Linked DNA regions of Homo sapiens: region 1 is linked to region 2. The links are contacts of gene promoters, found by promoter capture Hi-C in human tissues and cell types (Jung and others, 2019). All regions are on one chromosome and are shown on one strand. The core of a region is centred on a gene start or on the middle of the fragment in contact, and the rest is flanking DNA. Distances in the headings are between cores, read along the strand shown. Region 1 has its middle 95 kb from the start of LINC02687. Region 2 holds the start of CHST1 (carbohydrate sulfotransferase 1).

Region 1 (2,700 bases), core at 130-2,629, 200 kb before region 2:
ACTTTGTGCCCCCAGATGAGAGCTTTGAGGGTCCCAGGAAAACAAGGCCCAGATGGCTTCTACTAAAACACCATGGTGAGCGGTTTAAAGATAGGGCTTTGAGCTGTCACTTGGTGGTTCACAGCCAGGCTTCATGGTCTGAGTAAGATCAGGCCTCAGTGAGGCCAGATATAGCCTGGAGAAGTGCAGGTTGAGTGGCTGGGAATGGAGTGCCCTGCTGGGACCTGGAGAAGTTTCCCAGCTCTACTCCCACCTCCCTGCAAGGCACATACACTTTCTTCTTGAGGATGATTCTCCAAGAGAACCTCCCTTGGGAACAGATCTTTGGAGAGGATGGAAGCCTCCTAAGAAGATGCCTCGTCTTCCGAATCTTCCTTACCTCCCTCCCTCTGAGACTCCCTTAGGGGTCCCACTGCTTACTCTGCCCTTCCAGTTTCACTGCACACTGGCCTTCTCATTCAGTAAGTCATTTTGAAGATATCTATTGAGTCTCTACTGTATGCCACGTTCTGTGCTGGGCCCTAGGGATGCAGCAAAGAAGACACCATGGTCGCCTGCCATTATGGAGTTTACCATCCTAGGAACAGGCAGGTTTGCTTGAGCCATCACCTGCACTCTCTCCTTGTTACTCTGTAGTCCAGACCAGGCAAAGCTGAGGCGTCTTGTCAATGTTAAGGTCATAAGGAGTGACCAGGGGTCCTGAAGCTCTGGTCACCATTGTGGGGTCACAATGTTAAGGAAACAGAGTTAGGCTGGCAAAACAAGGGAAAAGAAAAAAGAAAAAGAAAATAAGCTACACACCTGCCTTTCTTCACAATCCAGGACACATAGCCCTCCTGTGCAAATAACTCACAGTCTTCCTGTACCCAACTTACCACCAGACTCTCAGCTGATTAAAAAATGCAAGTTAGCTCACTGCAACCTTGGCATTATCAATACTACACATAGCCCTCTCCAGCACAAGCACCATCCTATGAACTCCCCAGAAAGCTTTTGTCTCCTTGCAGTCAGCTCCTCTCCTGCTAATCTACCCGTTGCTTTCTTACATCTTTTCATATCTTCTGTAATAAATCTGCCTTTCTATACCTATGACTGTCTTGATAAATTCCTTTACCACCCATGCCACCACCCCCATATAGTTGCTACCCATGACAGCCATCAGTCTGCTGTGCAACCTTGCATAAGTCGCTCCCCTGTTCTGGGCCTGGATTTCTTCCTATTTGAAGGGAGGGATACTGGACCAGATGACCCCTCAGGCCCCTCTTCTTTTGGTGGGTCCAGGAATTGACTCTCACACATGGGTTCACTCCCAGGATGTGATTATTCATGCAGCAGATCCTTGCAGAGGTCACTCTGGCCATGAAGCATGGCAGGGAGCCACCATGACCAGGCCTGGCCTTCCTTTCTCCAAGGAGACCCCAATTTAGGTTTTTTTAAAAACAAACAATGAGAAAAATCATTTGGGATACCAGCAAACTTAGGCCAAACAATTTTTCGCCTGCTCCATAATTCTCCTTCCTGAACAATATTGAGAGATCACCACCTTGGTTTCTGCCTATTTAGCCCTTATCTCCTGGGAAAAGAGCACACAGATCTTAGCATAACAGGCTTCATAGTCACTGTGTGTCTATTTCACTCCCAAGAGATAAGATAATCATCATTAATTATATGGTGAATAGTTGGGGGTGATTGTTGGCTTCAAGCCCATACAGAAAAGCCGTACCTCTTCCACTCAGGTTCTCACATTCTGGAAAGGAGAGGCAGCTGATGAAGCGAGGTGGCTAAGACCACAGACTTTGAAGCCAAGCTGCCCCTGTTCCAAGTCTGTTTGAGCTTGGGCAAGTTTCTGCACCTCTCTATGCCTCAGTTTGCTCATCTGTAAATTGGGAATGATTAGAATAGTCCCTACATATCTCAGAGGGTGATTGTGAGGATTAAATGAGCTATTGTTGAGTGTCTGGGTCCAACCAATGCCCCAGTAGTGTTTGCTGAATAAACACTAAGTAGGCCCACCCACTGCACGCCTCCAAGGCAAGGCTCAGGAATCAGACTCAGGAAACCCAATGCCATTGATCTTGTGGCCCATGCTAATCCAGTGACCTGAAAACAGCTAATTTTAATTCGTAGAGAACTCACTCTATGTCAGACACTCTTCCAAATGTTTTGTGGGTATATGTGTACATTTACCAAGTTAATCCTCACAATAATCCTAGAAGATATGTAAGCACTACTTTACCACTCCCATTTTATAGAAGGAAAAACTGAAACATGGAGAGGTTGCATAGCTGGTTGTGGGCATCAGATTTTAGTGCTACAGCTGGGCAGAAAGCAGAGCTGCAGGGGTCTCGAATCCCAGCTCTGTTAGCTCTGAGCAGCTGTGTGATGTAGGATTAGGCATTAACCTCTCTGTTTCTCATTAATTTTGAAATGGGGAAAACAGCACCTAGCCCACAAGGCCTGAGATAATGTGGGTGGCATGCCCAGCATGGTTTCTGGCATATGATGGGGCTCAGGAAATGGGAAAAGTTATAAAAAGGAAAAAGGGGGACTGAGCAGATGTCCTAACCCCAGGACAGCCCCACAGAAGCCGGGACCTGGGACCGTCTTTCAACTGCACTGAAGGTAATTGGAGTGGGGGCCCTCTCTCTTCCCACCCCCACTCAGAGCCCCACAGAATGGTCCTAGGAGTAAGGATGGAGG
Region 2 (2,700 bases), core at 11-2,510:
GAAGCCGGCCCCAGAGCTGAGGAAGGCAGTCCTGTGAAAGGGCAGGCCCGGGGTGGGGGAGGGGGCACACCTGAAATCAGGCCAAGGTGCCACTCCAGGACGACCCCCGGGTCTTACCTTCCTCAGGCAGCCTGGCCTTTTAACGCCCAGCATCCCAGCTAGGGTTACTCTGGGCTGTTACCGCGAAAGCCAGCACTGGGTCCCTGGAGCCTGGGAGGGGCTGATCCCCGGGTCCTACCCAGAGAAGAGCGGGAGGGTTGTTCCGGCTTTCCGTGGTGGGCTCTGCACCATCCGGCGGCTCCGGCCCCACAGGGGCCCAGCTCATCGCAGCGGTCTGGGTGCGGAGGCCGGGCCAGGGCTGGGAGCAGGAAGCAGGGAGCGGCGCCCCCGCCTCCGGGTGCAGCTGGGTTTGGAAAGTTGGTGCGGGCGCGGGGACCTCAGGGTCTCAAGGCGCCTCCGCAGACCCGAGCCAGGCGGGTCGTGGGACGGTGAGCCCGGAGCAGCCCCTGAGTGCGCTCCGCAGCGGAGGGGAGCCAAGCGCCTCGGGGGCCACCGCGCGTCTCAAGTTTGCTGCCCTCCTCGAATGGGGGCAGGGAGGGCTGAGGTGATCGCGGCGCTCACCGGCCACCAGCCCCGGCAGCCCCTTCCTGCGCCCAACACGCCGCCGTTCCTCGCCGCCGCCACCCCTCCGCTCACCGCCGGTAGCTGCTGTCCCCGAGCGGAGGGGCGTCTCCCACCGCGCCCGCGCCCCTCCCGGCTGCTGCGGCGGAGTGTCCGCTCCCGCCCGCCCCGGAGCCCGCGGGGCCCGGCCAATACCTGGTCGGGGACGCGCCGGGAGCAGCTGCAGCGCCCAGCGCCGGCTCCATCCTCGGGTCTGGAGTCAGGGTCGCCGGGGACCCGCGGGTGGCGGCGGCGGCAGCAGCCGCGGCGGCATCCTCCGCCTCCCGCGCCCTCCTCCTCGGCCTCCCTCCTCCCTCCTCTTCCTCCGACTCCGCGCGCGCCTCACGGGCCCCTCTTCATGGCCCGGGGGCGCGAGCCCGGGGCGGCTCGAGCAGCTGAGTGCGTTCTCTCCGGCCGGACGCGGGACCCGGGGCCGGGGCTCAGGGACCCGAGAGATGCCGGGACAGGGGCCGGGACCCGGAGCGCCGCAGCCCCGGGCGCCGGAGGAGAGCAGCAGCCGCAGGCACCAGAGCCTCTCGGAGCGCCCGCCCGCGTCCCCGAGCCAAGAGCAGCGGCGGCAGCGGCGGCTACAGCTCCGAGCGAGCGGCAGGCGCTGCGGTCCCGGCTCCACCCCCGAGCCGCCCGCCCCTTCTCCTCCCCACCCCTTCGGCGCGCGCCTTCCCGCCCCCCGCGCCGCCCCAGCCGCGAGCGCCCTGGACACCCACTCCGCAGCCAGGCTCCGGAGCCCGCCCCCACCCACCCGCCGGGGGCAGCCACGCCCACCACCCGGACTTCGGGCGGCCGGCGGGCAAGGGCACCGGCTGTCTCTGGCACCTCTCCGCGTAGCCTCCCTTCCCCTTACCCCCGAGGGCGCTGCTGGCCGGGCCGCCAAAGCCTTTCGCCCCCCCAGCGCCCCTCGCCGCGGAAGTCCTGCTGGAGTCCCAGCCTGGCCCCTGGCCCAGCTGTCCTTTACCTCTTGCCCAGCCAGCGGCACAGAGGGACTTCAGAACCCAGAACTGAAGCCAACCATCTCTGTGTGCAATACCCTGACACACACCCCTAGCCTTTCCTCCTTCCCCGCCCCTCTGCTTCTCAAGTGTGGGGATGAATCATTTGTCCCCGCTGCAGTTGTCCCTCTTGGGCAGGGTCAGGGGGTGTCTTAATGGGACCTTAGAGTGGGTTTGCTGGCTGACCGTCTTCTAGGCCGCTCCTCCACACTGCCCACCTTCTTCCTACCAGACTGCCCCTGGCTTTCTAGGTGGCAATCTGGAGCCACCACTGCTTTTATGGATGAGGGATGGGGACAGAGCTGGCCAGCCGAGCACCTTGGGCCTGTATCCTCTGCACAAATATTGACTGAGCATCTTCCACAGGCCTGGCCTTCATGGGCACCAGGGACTGGTTGATGAACCTCTCAGAGTGGAGTGGAGGAGAAGCAGGGTGCATGAGCAGAGCAATATCATGTGATCAGTGGCCCCTGGGCTGGAGAGGACGGCCAGGAGTCCCAGCTCTGCCACCACATCTGACATGACTGAGGCTGCCCACCCCAGTGGCCTGTTTCCTCATCTGGAGACTAGGAAGGTGCTTTGTCTGGCTGAACCTCTGATGCTCCTCAGTTCTGACCAAATGGTTATTTCTGAAGCAGAGGAACAGTCAGCCTTCATCTCCACCTGGAATCTCTGATTCCCGACTATAGCTCTCCATCACTCCTGGACTGGGGCGCAGAGAGCAGTGGATGGCTTGAAAACTCCAGGCATTCTGGGAAAGCCTCGTCCCCGATGTATGGGCAAGCAGCTGCTGCCTCCATCCCACACAGTGAAGCACAGCAGAATGGTTAGCACAGCAGTTTCCTGGGTCAGAGGAACCTGCTGTGTGTTTGCTGGGTGACTTTGTGTGAGTGATCAGCCTCTCTGCGGCTCAGTTTCCTCATCCAGAAGACAGAGGTACTGATCCTCACCCTGTAGGGGTGTTGTGAACACTGGATGGTAATGTGTGTAGAGCATTCAGCAGTGTCTGGCAAGGGGGTGAGTACTTAATAAT

What was found. The method cuts DNA at HindIII sites, captures the fragments that hold promoters and counts their contacts. A contact is called where the count stands out against the background at its distance.
Region 1: a contact is called between a fragment that was not itself captured here and the fragment with the promoter of CHST1 in region 2, in 1 of the 25 tissues and cell types used here (H1 embryonic stem cells).

The regions. Positions count from the first base shown.
Region 1 is chr11:45,464,945-45,467,644 of GRCh38, forward strand. No RefSeq gene overlaps it. Among named protein-coding and RNA genes, the nearest start is that of LINC02687, 95 kb to the left of the region's middle. The HindIII fragment of the contact is 7,479 bases long and covers 1-2,700 here.
Region 2 is chr11:45,664,362-45,667,061 of GRCh38, forward strand. It overlaps CHST1 (carbohydrate sulfotransferase 1), which reads right to left and starts at 1,261. Exons shown (of 4, transcript NM_003654.6): 1 at 817-1,261. The HindIII fragment of the contact is 12,246 bases long and covers 1-2,700 here.